5 separate regions of the Homo sapiens genome follow, and regions 1, 2, 3 and 4 are each linked to region 5. The links are contacts of gene promoters, found by promoter capture Hi-C in blood cells and fetal thymus (Javierre and others, 2016). All regions are on one chromosome and are shown on one strand. The core of a region is centred on a gene start or on the middle of the fragment in contact, and the rest is flanking DNA. Distances in the headings are between cores, read along the strand shown.

What was found. Contacts are between HindIII fragments. The CHiCAGO score rates a contact against its expected background, and 5 or more counts as called.
Region 1: a contact is called between a fragment that was not itself captured here and the fragment with the promoter of CENPF in region 5, in 1 of 17 cell types (monocytes). The highest score is 5.2, in monocytes.
Region 2: a fragment that was not itself captured here is called in contact with the fragment with the promoter of CENPF in region 5 in 7 of 17 cell types (M2 macrophages, monocytes, erythroblasts and 4 more); the score reaches 11.3 in M2 macrophages.
Region 3: a contact is called between a fragment that was not itself captured here and the fragment with the promoter of CENPF in region 5, in 2 of 17 cell types (fetal thymus and naive CD4 T cells). The highest score is 7.3, in fetal thymus.
Region 4: a fragment that was not itself captured here is called in contact with the fragment with the promoter of CENPF in region 5 in 1 of 17 cell types (fetal thymus); the score reaches 11.3 in fetal thymus.

The regions. Positions count from the first base shown.
Region 1 is chr1:215,625,919-215,628,618 of GRCh38, forward strand. The region is part of intron 71 of USH2A (usherin); the gene reads right to left. Among named protein-coding and RNA genes, the nearest start is that of KCTD3, 60 kb to the left of the region's middle. The HindIII fragment of the contact is 1,440 bases long and covers 683-2,122 here.
Region 2 is chr1:215,604,692-215,607,391 of GRCh38, forward strand. The region is part of intron 13 of KCTD3 (potassium channel tetramerization domain containing 3); the gene reads left to right. Among named protein-coding and RNA genes, the nearest start is that of KCTD3, 39 kb to the left of the region's middle. The HindIII fragment of the contact is 1,839 bases long and covers 403-2,241 here.
Region 3 is chr1:213,048,153-213,050,852 of GRCh38, forward strand. No RefSeq gene overlaps it. Among named protein-coding and RNA genes, the nearest start is that of RPS6KC1, 1.7 kb to the right of the region's middle. The HindIII fragment of the contact is 3,639 bases long and covers 1-2,700 here.
Region 4 is chr1:212,788,959-212,791,658 of GRCh38, forward strand. It overlaps NSL1 (NSL1 component of MIS12 kinetochore complex), which reads right to left. Exons shown (of 6, transcript NM_015471.4): 1 at 2,572-2,700. Among named protein-coding and RNA genes, the nearest start is that of NSL1, 1.5 kb to the right of the region's middle. RefSeq lists an enhancer at 1,492-2,270. The HindIII fragment of the contact is 1,488 bases long and covers 707-2,194 here.
Region 5 is chr1:214,601,845-214,604,544 of GRCh38, forward strand. CENPF (centromere protein F) reads left to right here and starts at 1,351. Exons shown (of 20, transcript NM_016343.4): 1 at 1,351-1,477. RefSeq lists a silencer at 1,245-1,454. The HindIII fragment of the contact is 1,274 bases long and covers 614-1,887 here.

The sequences.
Region 1 (2,700 bases), core at 153-2,652, 1.0 Mb after region 5:
ATTTGCTATCAATTTATAGTTATATCAATTAAGTGTAAAAAGTAATAAGTATTAAAGGCTTTTTTATTCTCAACACCATGGTGGGGTCTAAAACAGACCTTGCCTTAAATTTCTCTTATTGAAAGGATCACATCACATGCACACATGAACTATAGACTAATTCAAAATGTATATGTGATTTGAGGGTTATATTGTGTCATATTTTAACCTAAGCCTCAGAAGCCTCAGTCTACTCATCTGTAGAGTGGGATGTGTGTGTGTGTACATATATACTTGATAAAAATAAATTAGCTGGGGGTATATATATATATTTTTAGTATATATATACACACTATATAGACACTACATATATATACTATATATTTTAGTGTATATATACACTATATATATATATGTATGTATGTATGTATGTATATAGTATTTTTAGTAGAGATGGGGTTTCACCATGTTGGCCAGTCTGGTCTTGAACTCCTGACCTCTGGTGATCTGTATATATACATATATATACACACATATATATGGATTTAGTTCAAACGGTAAATGGAAGAGGCAGAATGCTAGCTATTTGTGCTCCATTTCTTCCCACTCTTGTGCTGTATTTTGTATTTATCAAATAGGGTTAGTAATGTTGGTTATAATGTTATAATAAACAGATAACTTGCCAAGTACTGGCACCTTCAAAAGCTTGTTATTGAGTCCCTTTGCACATTGCCCATTATTAGTACCGTAAAAAGCAAGCAAAAATGACAATACAGTATAATAGTTACAAATAGGAGCTCTGTAGTCAGATGATGTTTTTAAGAACCCAAACCCATAAAAATAATTGCTAGCTGTGTAATCTCTCATTAAATCACTCATCTCTCTAAACCTCAGTTCTTTTTGTAAAAAATGAGGATGATAATAGAACCTACTTCCTACAGTTTGTGAAGATTAGATGTAATAATTCATCTGAACTTTCAATGTATTATGTTGAATGTATAGCAATTGCTGTTTTGCATGTCAAAAATGATCAGTTAGCAATTCATTGTTTCAACCAAATATAATTATCCCTGCCTTTTAAAAACTTTAGATCTGAAATGGACTCATGTAGTTGAGGTTACAACAACATCAAACAGCCTGTGATTTTAAAATGCATATTATATATATGTATATATTATACAATCATTCTGAACAGGCCAGAAGGATGGTACATTTTTTTATATAGTGTTAGGGAACCTGGGTCCAGCGAACTCCCTTTATTATTTGCTATTAGTCAAGAAAGGCTTCATGGAAGTCATCAACTTTTCAGTGAAGGAAAAGTGAGAACTTGGAGGAGAAAGATGAGAGCAAATCCAAAAACAGAAGCAGATGATTGAAAGAAGTGGAGGTGAATAATTTTACCCCAGAGGAGTAAACACAGGAGCTAACTTCCTAGCTGGTTATGTTTCTTTTCTTTTCTTTCTCTCCCTCCCTCCCTCCCTTCCTTCTTTCCTTCCTTCCTTCCTTCCTTCCTTCCTTCCTTCCTTCCTTCCTTCCTTCCTTCCTTCCTTCCTTCCTTCCTTCCTTCCTTCCTTCCTTCCTTCCTTCTTTCCTTCCTTCCTTCCTTCTTTCCTTCCTTCCTTCCTTCCTTTTTTCCTTTTTTTCTTTTTTCAGAGTCTTGCTCTGTCACCCAGGCTGGAGTGCAGTGGGGCCATCTCAGCTCACTGCAACTTCCACCTCCCAGGTTCAAGCAATTCTCCTGCCTCAGCCTCCTGAGTAGCTGGGATTACAGGTGCGCACCACCGCGCCCAGCTAATTTTTGTATTTTTGGTAGAGACGAGGTTTCACCATGTTGGTCAGGCTGGTCTCTATCTAACTCTGGACCTCGTGATCCGCCCACCTCGGCCTCCCAAAATGCTGGGATTACAGGCGTAAGCCACTGTGCCTGGCCTATCTGTTTATTTTCTAACAGGCCCAGTGGAATGGTAGGTACTGCAGCGGGCATCTAGGAAGTTAGCACAATGAAATTTGATAGTTGGCAAAAATTCTAGGATTTTTGTTATTGTAGCCGCTCAGAGACTGATAATAAATGTTATATCACGAAGAGGTTACCTTTCAAAGAGCCAATGATTTGTACCCACTGGACTGAAATTATGAAAGATGAAGCTTATAAATAGTAACACCCTCATTTGTCATCATTTCCTAAGGTTTTGGAAAGCAACCATGTTCACCTGTTGATACAAAATATTCTTTTTGCGTCTACCCATACACCAATAGGAAAAGGCAAAACAAAAAAAGTACCTTTTTGTTTTAGTAAAACAAGTGCTTGTATTTTATGCCTTGTTTTAGGCCCATTCCAATGTTTCCTGTCATCTGCTCCAAGTATATGAAGTATAACCTGTTTGCTGCTTATTTATTTATTTATTTTGAGATGGAGTCTCTGTCACCCAGGCTGGAGTGCAGTGGCGCGGTCTCGGCTCACTGCAACCTCCACCTCCTGGGTTCAAGCAATTCTCCTGCCTCAGCCCCCCTAGTAGCTGGGATTACAGGTGCCCACCACCACACCTGGCTAATTTTTGTATTTTTAGTACAGACAGGGTTTCACCATGTTGGCCAGGCTGGTCTCAAACTCCTGTCCTCAGGTGATCCGCCCACCTCGGCCTCCCCAAGTGCTGGGATTACAGGCATGAGCCACCACGGCTAGCCAATAAGCATTTATTTTTAAGCATCTATTGCATACCA
Region 2 (2,700 bases), core at 72-2,571, 1.0 Mb after region 5:
TATTGCAAAATATTTATTATGACCCTGCTAAGAGGAATTTTTATTAAATTTTTCAAGTTTTACTTTTAATATAAATTGGGTTGATTATATTATGGTTTAATGCTAAAACTGTAGATTTAAATGTGTATTTTGATATTTTGTCATCTCAAAAATAATAAAAATTACAATTGTAGAGATTATTTGAAGAAAATAAGCTTTTCTTGGGTTTGTAGTTCTTCATAATATAAAATTTTTAATTAAATATTAATTGGATACATAAAAAATTAAATACTAATTTTCAAGTTTAACGAATAGTACTTTCTGATTACAAAGTAAAATTCTATTGAAGAAATTCATTGTGTATGGAAGATGATTTCTAAAAGGCTTTGTGAAAATTGCATTGTGAGTTGGGTGTGTCAGTAAAGCTTGCTTTCTAGAGGAGTCTTACATTAACTCCTTTTGTAGAGCAGTTCTTGCCCAACTTAAAATTTTTACAAACATGGTTTTCATGTGTCAGATTTGTTTTTGTGAAGGCTGGCTAGAAGATAATGCATCTTTTGTGAAAGATGTAGTGAAAGTTTCTCAATCTAATTAAACACCATGTGGAGCTGAAATTCAGTCCATAGCTGAATGATTATGCTTTTATTGAATGTGTAATTGTTTGTGGTATAAGTATGCCTTGCTAAAACAGTCTCTGTTAGGTTTTCATAAAACATTACTCCCCTGCCCCACTGAGGAGTTTCTAACTCTTGCTGGTTCCTCATCTTTTGCCCAGTTGCTGAGTGTTGGATTGCCCTTGAGCTCTTTCCTGGACTCTGTATTCTTTATCTGCACTTTCCTAGTTATTTGAATAGTAATTATATGTCAGTGGTTCCCAAACTTTCCTCCACCTGTGACCATCCAAAGAGTTCCAAACCCTGTATATCCAGTGTCTGGATCTCTGGTTGTATGTTTAATAGGCATCTCAAATTTAAGTTGGACAAAATAAAACTTAATGATTTCTCCCTCAAAAGCCATCTTAGTATACAGTATCACCATCTACTTATCTACTCAAGCTGAAAATCTAGGAATCACCCTTGATTTCTCCCTTTCTTTCACCTCCCACATAGTACAATTCATCAGTAAGTCCTGTTGGTTTTGCTGCCACATTATGTCACAAATCCAGTCACTTTTCATTGCTGTCAGTCTAGTGTCTCACGTCATCATCCTTTCTCCCCTAGATGACTGTAGTAACTTCTCAACTTTTCCCTCTCTATGGTACATGTTCCACACAGCAGCCAGAAGCATCTTTTAGAAACACAAACGAAGTTTGATTCCTGATGGCTTCTAATTGTATTTAGAATAAATTTAAATTTCTACCATAGCCTGTATGGCTTTTCTTGTTCTAGATTCTACCTACCTTTAAAATTTCTTCCCAATCCCATGTCACTTTTCTCATTGCTGATAACACTCTAACCTGTTGGCTTTTCTATTTCTTAAAAATGCCTTCGAACTTTTGTGTTTGTTCTTTTTATTTGAAATGGTTTGCCCATAGGTATTTGTTTGACTGCATTCTTGTCATTCTGGTGCCGTTTCAAAGCCCTTCTCAATGAGTGCCCCTTGGCCACCTGCTTTAAATTAAATTAGCCAAACCTCTGTCCAACAATAACTTTCTCTAACGGTACCTTGCTTTGTGTTCTTCATAGCTTTATCACTTATTCATTTATTTGCTTGTTTATTATCTCTATCTCTTCTAGAAAATTCTCCAATAGCAGAAACTTTGTTGTGTTCTCAGCACTTAGCATAATTCTGACACGTAAAAGATGCTGAATAAATGTTATGAAATAAGGCAATTCAGTTCTCTGAGAAAATGGGCCGTTTTGAAGGGTTATTGTGATGTTTAGATGATAATGTATAGAGATACTCTGTAATAATTGCTATTATTTTGGTGGTTATAATGTTATTGTGGGATGTGATACCAAGGAACTACTTTGTAAAACTTGCATTTTAACATCAGATATTTCATGTAGGTTTGAAACTTTTGTAAGTTTGTCAAGAGAAATATCCTTTTTAACAAAAAATCTGGAGTATTTTGTGTATACTCAGTTATGTTATTCTGCCACCTGGTGGATATTAACACATATGTAATGACATTGTTTTCCCTATAGTGCATTTTAATCCCTTAAAGAAAAACTTTGGATAATGACTAATATTAGCAAAATTGACGTAATTGTCCAATTGAATCAACTAAAAATATTTAAATTATTTTTCTGAATCCTAGTAAGCTTAGTAGTGAAATCAGGAAATGATTTCCCGTGAAACTAAATAGCCTAGAACAAAATGTCCCCTTTTCACCAGAAAACTGACAGTCTAATAATTGAGAATTTTGTTATATAAGAATAGAAAGTACACAGATGTTACTTATTGCTGTTTGCCAAAATTAAATTTCTTTCTAAAGTTTTGTTTAAAATATGTGTAACTGTAGAATATGTAACACATTTTTACCCAGTAGTAAATATTATGTATGTGTGTATATAAGAAATTTTAGATACTTTCCTAATATTTACTGATGAGTTCATAGTTCATTGCTAATAATAACATATTTTCTAAAATCATAAATGGCAAAATCAGTATATTTTTTATTAAAGCATGCCAAAAAAAGTAGTTTTTGCATTAGTGATACACTTTATGGTGTATATTTTCAAATAGAGTATCTACTCAGACAAAAAAAAGTACAGCTAG
Region 3 (2,700 bases), core at 7-2,506, 1.6 Mb before region 5:
CTGAGATTACAGGCATAAGCCACTGCGCCCAGCCTGTTAACATTTATTTTATAGCCCAGGATATGGCCTGACTTGTTGAATGTTTTCTGTACACTTGAAACAAACATTTTCTGCTACTATTGAGTGGCGTGTTCTATAAATGTCTATCAGGTAGAGTTGGTTGATAGAGCTTTTCAGGTTTTCTGTATCCTTATTCATTTATTTGTTTACATGTTTTGTCAATTACCGAGAGAGGAGCGTTGAAATCTTTTTTGTTTTTTTTGAGACAGATTCTTGCTCTATTGCCCACGCTAGAGTGCAGTTGCATGATCTTGGCTCACTGCAACCTCCACCTCCCTGGTTCAAGTGATTCTTGTGCTTCAGCCTCCCAAGTGACTGGGGTTACAGGAATGTGCCACCACGCCGGCTAATTTTTGTATTTTTAGTAGAGATGAGGTTTTGCCATGTTGGCCAGGCTGGTCTTGAACTCCTGGCCTCAAGTGATCTACCCACTTCAGCCTTCTAAAGTGCTAGGATTACAGGCATGTGCCACCATGCCAGGCCTGAGTGTTGAAATTTTAACTATAATTGTGGATTTGTCTATTTCTTCTTTTAGTTCTAATCGTTTTTGCTTTTTACATTTTTAGTTTTGTTATTAGGTATATACACATTTAGAATTGCTCTGTCTTCTTTATGAATTGAATTCTTTAAGTTTTGTCCTTCTTTATTCCTGATCATATTTCTTTGTCTTAAGTATTTCTAGTAGTGTTTTCGTGGCACATGTTTTTCCACTTTTTAAATTTTTAATCAATAATATCTGGTAAATCAAAGAAACTCAGAGAACATGGAGAGGAAGTTGCTAAGGATGATATCAAATAGCTAACTAATGTAATTAAATGGAGAGTAAAACCAGTCATGGAGATAGAAATAGGTATATGAGGGGAAAAAATGTTGAGATTTTGATTTGTTCTGTTTCCAGTGTTAGATATATAATAAAGATGTAGGTAAAGTGAGTCAAGTCCTGGAAGAGAGATATGCTGGGAGATAGACATTTGCAAGTCAATGGGAATAAAGAACAAAGGATCAAAGGCAAAATCTTGAGAAACAAGAATACTAAAAGTTCTTGGAAGGAATAGAAACCAGCAAAGGAGACTGAAAAAAGAGCAAGTCATCTGAGTATAAAAGAGAAAAGAGAAATAATGCTGACTCATATGCTAAGAATATACAAAAGTTTTAAAAAGGTAGAAATGGTCAGAGACTTTCAAAATCCAGAAATATTGGGCAAATTGAGGTCACTGGAAACTGTTTTCAGAGCAGTTTCAGAGTAGCAATATAGAGGTGAAACCAGATTGAATTGGACATGGGAATAAATGGGTGATGATGCAATGTTGATGTAGATTACTTTAAAATCAACTTAAACAACTTTGACGGTGAGTGGAAGGAGAAAGAAAGGAAGAAAAGAAGGCAAAATGAATAATGCCCTTTACTCCCTTCTCTCCTGGCTAACTCCCATCTCTCTTCCAAGACTCAGTCTTCTATCAGAAAGCCTTAGGCGATCTTCCATCCTGAATTGATGTGCTCTTTAGTACTCCATATATACATTCACCATGGTACTTATCACAGTATATTTTGTGTCTTTATTTTTCCTACTAGATGGTACTTGAGAACAGGGACTATCTACCTTTTTTTTTTTTTTTTTTTTTTTGAGAGAAGTCTTGCTCTTGTCCCCCAGGCTGAAGTGCAATGGTGCGATCTTGGCTCACCGAAACCTCCACCTCCCGGGTTCAAACGACTCTTTTGCCTCAGCCTCCCAAGTAGCTGGGATTGCAGGCGCCTGCCACCACGCCTGGCTAATTTTTTGTATTTTTAGTAGAGACGGGGTTTCACCATGTTGGCCAGGCTGGTCTCGAACTCCTGACCTGAGGTAATCCGCCCGCCTCGGCCTCCCAAAGTGTTGGGATTACAGGCGTGAGCCACCGCGCCCGGTCGGAGAACAGGGACTATCTTTGTAACTCCAATGCCAAATTGGCATCATGTCTGGCACATAGTAGGTGGTGAATTCAGGTTTAATGAATGACTAATAGACTTAGATATATGTAGGTTGAAAAGAAGGAGCCAGTGGTGAGAAAGAGATTAAACATACAGAAAGGAGATTTGGAATGTCATTGAAACAGTGTCTTAAGGTTTGCCAAAGAGGATGGGATTCAGATCACATGTGGAGTCATTAGCTGTAAAAATGAGCAAGTGATATGTGTACGTTTCAGACTGGCATGGAAATGTGAGAAGACAAAGGAATTGGTACTAAGGGCCATAGCTGCTTCTTCCTCTTCTTTTTTCCCTGTAAAGAAGAGTGGTGGTGCGGAGAGTAGGGAGGCAAAAGGAAGAGGAACAGAGTCTTTAGGATAATGGCAAAGACTTGGCATGAATATTTTGTGGAATGAAAAGGAACCTTGATCACAAAAAGATAAAGGAACTGCCAAGCGTTGATAACAACCTCAGCTGAAATTGGAAACTGTAGTGAGTGACTCGGAGAGGTCGAGTGACATATTTCTTTCTTCTAGCCAGAGGCGGACTCCAGATTTTCGAACCTGTGGGGATTTTTAAAAGATTGATATTGGCTTGGGAGCTTTTTTGGGTTGGGGGCTTGCTGTGCAGATGTGTTACAGAAAGGCGCTCAATGGAAGGAAATTCGTCTTAGAAAGAAGTAAGGGATATGTCTCA
Region 4 (2,700 bases), core at 201-2,700, 1.8 Mb before region 5:
ATAGAAAGTTTACTCTCCCCAAGTACTCTCCAAAATAGTACCTTATGTCCTAGAAGGAAGAGGGATGGGGAAGGGGAACTCAAAGAATTTTGCTTTATGCTACTGTTTGAATTTTTTTATGAGCATATATTTTGTACCCTTTGTATAATTAAAAATAACATAAACCAAATTACTGATAATTATGAGTTAAAGTACATATTCTACATTTCAAAGATTTCATAAAGTAAAATCCTTATTTTATTTTTTGTTTGTTTGTTTTTTGTTTTTTTTGAGATGGAGTTTCACTCTTGTCAACCAGGCTGGAGTGCAATGGCGCAATCTTGGCTCACTGCAACCTCCGCTTCCCAGGTTCAAGCGATTCTCCTGCCTCAGTCTCCCGAATAGCTGGGATTACAGGCAAGCGCCATCACACCCGGCTAATTTTTGTATTTTTAGTATAGACAGGGTTTCACCGTGTTGGCCAGGCTGGTCTGGAACTCCTGACCTCAGGTGATCCGCCCGCCTCAGCCTCCCAAAGTGCTGGGATTACAGGCGTAAGCCATCGCGCCCGGCCTATGTATGTTTTAAAATTATTTTCTAGAATTACTTTCAAGAATTGCTGAGAAAACATATTGTCTTTGTAACATTCATTGCAGACTGCTACCAATACTGTTTTTAAAGAAAATCTGCTACTTAATATGCAGTTTTAAACAGAGATACAAAATAAAGCTTCTGCTTTATTTAAAATAAAACACAAGTGAATTCCTGTGGTAGTCTAAGCCCTGTAAACTTTATCTTATAATTCACTTTATCGTCCCACTAAATAGGATATAATAGGTTAAGCCAAGTTCCTCTTTTTCTGTAAGACACCTAAATGTTTTAAATACCTTAGCATTTCCTAGAATCAGACAAATTCTAAGATTATACAACAAAAGTCTTCTCCCAAAAAACTACTAAAAACGTCCTGAGATATATCCCTATTCTTGCCTTGCTTGCAAGGAGGGAATGACGTAAGAGTCACTATATACAAAACTACATACAGAGTCACAACCCAGGAAGTGTTTCTTCATTCTTCCACTGAACCTTTTTTTTTTGAGATGGAGTCTCGCTCTGTCACCCAGGCTGGAGTGCAGTGGCGAGATCTGGGCTCACTGCAAGCTCCGCCTCCCGGGTTCACGCCATTCTCCTGCCTCAGCCTCCCGAGTAGCTGGGACTACAGGTGCCTGCCACCATGGCCGGCTAATTTTTTGTATTATTATTATTATTGTTTTAGTAGAGACGGGGTTTCACCATGTTAGCCAGGATGGTCTCGATCTCCTGACCTCGTGATCCGCCCGCCTCGGCCTCCCAAAGTGCTGGGATTACAGGCGTGAGCCACCGCGCCCGACCCCTTTTGCCTGTTTTAGAGTGAAAACATTTTCTTTACAAGACTAAAATAGGTTAAAAAAAATTGTGTTGGTTGAAAACTTTACTAAGATCATACATTTGCCTCTATACCACATTTCCCAAGCCTTTCTTAAATATTTTTGCAAAGCCCTGAAGGTGGTAGTTTTTTGGGAACACAAGAAATAAAGGGATTGTGTGCTTCCTTATAACAGGCACCAATCTACTTATATTAGCGGAAAAAATTTAAAAGCTCATAATACCGCACATTTGTGAGTTATGAATGACCACAGTGCAAACAGTAAAAATAAAGGTTAATAGGCCGGGCGAGGTGGCTCACGCCTGTAATACCAGCACTTTGGGAGCCCAAGGCGGGCGGATCACGAGGTCAGGAGATCGAGACCATGCTGGCTAACACGGTGAAACCCTGTCTCTACTAAAAACACAAAAAAATTAGCCGGGCGTGGTGGCAGGCGCCTGGAGTCCCAGCTACTCAGGAGGCTGAGGCAGGAGAATGGCGTGAACCCAGGAGGCGGAGCTTGCAGTGAGCCGAGATCGCGCCACTGCACTCCAGCCTGGGCGACAGAGCGAGACTCTGTCTCAAAAAAAAAAAATAAAATAAAATAAATAAATAAATAAAACATGCAAAAGGAAAGATCAAATGCTGCTTGGGTGAATGGCTGACTTCCAGAATTACCCTTTCCAGGAGAATTCCTCATTGTCTGCGGCTGCATTGTCCAACAGGTGAGCCACTAGCCACTTTGTAGTTACTGAGCGCTTAAATGTAACTAGTTCGAAGATGTGCCGTAAATGCAGCACACCAGATTTGAAAAGCTTAGTACGAACAAAAGAATGTAAAATATCTCATTCATTTGATATTATTACATGTTAAAATACCTTGGATTTATTGGGTTAAACAAAATGTCTTATTTCCATTAACTTCACCTATTTCTTACTTTTAGTTTAAAACTACATAAAGATTAGCTTGCCTTGTATTTTCACTGGACAGCGCTGGTCTAAGTAATTAATAAGACCCAGCTGACATTAGCATCTATTTCTTTCTCCTCTAGCGTTTCTCGAACTGGTTCTACAGTAGCCTGGGGCACCGTTAATTCTGCCAAGGCCTGGCGTGGGATCTTTCTGAATCCTAAGATCCTGGGTGTTGGGTAAGAGGATGATGAGTAAAGAACTGGCTAACTGGTCCCGTACCCACTGCGCATCTCGCAGAGCGGGCTCCCGAATCTCCTCCGGCAGAGCGTCCCCGAGCTTTTGCACGAAGCGGCCGCACAGTTGTAGCATTTCGGTCACAGCCCGCTTCGAGGTGCAGCGCACCCGAAA
Region 5 (2,700 bases), core at 101-2,600:
TCCTTAAACAGCCTATACATAGTTGAATAATTACTCTGGGAAGCAATGGAATTGTAATTTGTGTTGAAGCCAGACACAATTTGGTTCAAATTCTAAAACTACCAGACACTAGACTGATCATGGCAATGTCTGACAAAAGTTTTCCTCCCCTACCTGCTCTCTCCCCTCCCTTTGGGGATTCGAAGGTAGAAGATAGTAAGAACAAGGCCTTTCCCCAAATAGCAGTTTTATCTCCCAAGATGATCTGGATTTTAAATTACTATGTGCAAAGTTACTAGGGATGCAAAAATGAATTAAAACAGATTTTACTGTAAAGGAATTTTTGAGTCTGATGGGGGAGTCAGACGTAGACATAAATACAAGACAAGACACGGCGAAAATCCTAAACATGAAGTTTGCAAGTTCCAGGAAAGGTCTAGGAAATAATTATCTCTAAGGAGTGGGTGGGATTAGGGAGGTTTTATAAAAAAAGTGACACTTGAATTGGGTACTGCAGGAACAGTCTAATGAAAGGTAAAGTCAGGGGGCTGGAAAGTTTGGTACCTATTGAGGCAGACAACAGCATTAGAGATCTATTACTTTAACAATTAATTGTTTTGCTTCTGCCTTTAGAAGCTTATTTATAGTTTAATAGGGAAATAAAACGAGTATATAACATACATAGAAAACTAGTGGGCTTCACGAAAAGCATTACACCCCGTTTTGAGGATTCTTCTGAATTTTAAATTCTGATGCAGTGTCCTCCCCCCACGCCTTAATCCCGGAAAATAAGTGTTCAGAATCACGTCTTAGAAATATGAACCATAAAGGACAGCATTTAAGAGCGACATCCTGCATTGCGTAGATTCAATTTCAAATTACTGTACTTAGCTTCTATGAGCCTGTTAACTTTTTAATAAAATGAGGATAATACTTTCCTCAAAGAATTGTTAAGAACGACACCGGATAAAGAATGCATGACAAACACAGCACCTAGTATCTATGTCCTAAATTTACGTTTAATTAAGTAGATTGGTACGTGCAGTTTAAAAGAGGTTTCACCAGGCAGCACAGTTCCCCTGGCTGTAGGCGATAGACCACGCCTTCCTAATCAGCGGGCGCATTCCCTGACTTTTGCGGAAATAGCGGTCCAAAACCGCGTCTAGCATTAGCAAAAGCACGTGGTCTCCGTCTCCCCGCAACAACAAAAAAGAACAGTAAACTCCGGCGCAGGCACCTCCAGTAGAGGGCTTGTTTTTAAAATCCATCCGAAAGGGCCAATCAGACGCGGCAGTCTGAGTGCGCAGGCGCGGATTGGTCCGCAGCTACTTAGAGTGACCAATAGGCGTGGAGGTAAGTTTGGTTGAGACCAGAAGCGGGCGAATTGGGCACCGGTGGCGGCTGCGGGCAGTTTGAATTAGACTCTGGGCTCCAGCCCGCCGAAGCCGCGCCAGAACTGTACTCTCCGAGAGGTCGTTTTCCCGTCCCCGAGAGCAAGGTGAGCGTCCTGACTGGGTCCGGATCCTGGCCCTGGCGGCGGGCGGTAGGCGGCGGGCGGCGTGGGGGTGCCGCTGGCTTTTTGCCGGCGGGTACTGGGCGGGGAGGCCTCTGGGATCACTCTCCCGGCCCTGTAGGTGCCGGGGACCGCCCCCTCCCACCCGACCGAACTGGAGAATCCGCCCCGGGATGTGGTTCGTAGGGGTGTCTGCGCCCTTCTGCTCGGGTTCAAACTGGTCTCGGATTAGTGTCCCAGACCCTACTCGGTCACGGACTCACACTTTAGGGGATCATTTTCTTCCTCCGTAAAAGAATTGGAGATGACTAGGTATTTCCAAGCCGCCTTCCCAGTCCCGTAACCAACCTTATTGAAATTCAGGCCCTGGTCCTTTGTTTTATTGAGTAGATGTAAGCTTGAGTTTTGATCTGGTTGGCGACGTGGGGTGCCTATGGTTAGTTACGCGAGCATTTCTCTTTCCCCTCTCTTCTTCCTCCCGTCCACATTTTTTTTTTTCTTTTTTTAAATAGAGATAGGCCTCCCTATATTGCCTAGGCTGGTCTGGAACCCCTGGGCTCAAGGGATCCTCCCGCCTTGGCCTCTGTAAGTGCCAGGATTACAAGCATGAGCCACTACGCCCGGTCCTCCCTTCCACATTTATTTGAACGCGCCTGTGTGCCCGGCTCGGCTGTGTAATGAGGACCCAGAAATAAAAGGCATGGGTCGTGTCCTTGAGCCTGACCTAGAGGAGAAGGCAGGGTTATCATTCTCAGACCCAGCCTTGGTACAGTGCACGGGGACTCTGGCTTTTTGGAGGAGGTGGGGAATTCTGACAACGGGAAAGCAGTGGTGGAGGTGGGGCAGGAGGAGGTCACACAAGAGCTTCCTTGGGGACTAAGGGACTGGGTAGTTCGGGCATGAAGAGTGCCCTCCACGTATTTAAGAGATAAAGATACAGCATTTTCTGGAAAGGACAATAGTCCTGCAAGTCCTCCATGCAGGAACCTTCATCCAGGGCTTTTCTTCACTCCCCACCTCGATTCCCTGTTCCTCAAAAGTAAACTTCTGGGTTTATTTTTTTGTTCTTTTGCCCCAATGGCCCAATACAGGTGGCTGATAGCTGATCCCTTAATGGGCCAAAATCTGCTCTAATCACAGTTAGCTTGGTCTACATCTATATTGTTCTCTATCTTAGACTTTGGAATGGAAAAGCATTCAGCTTGCCA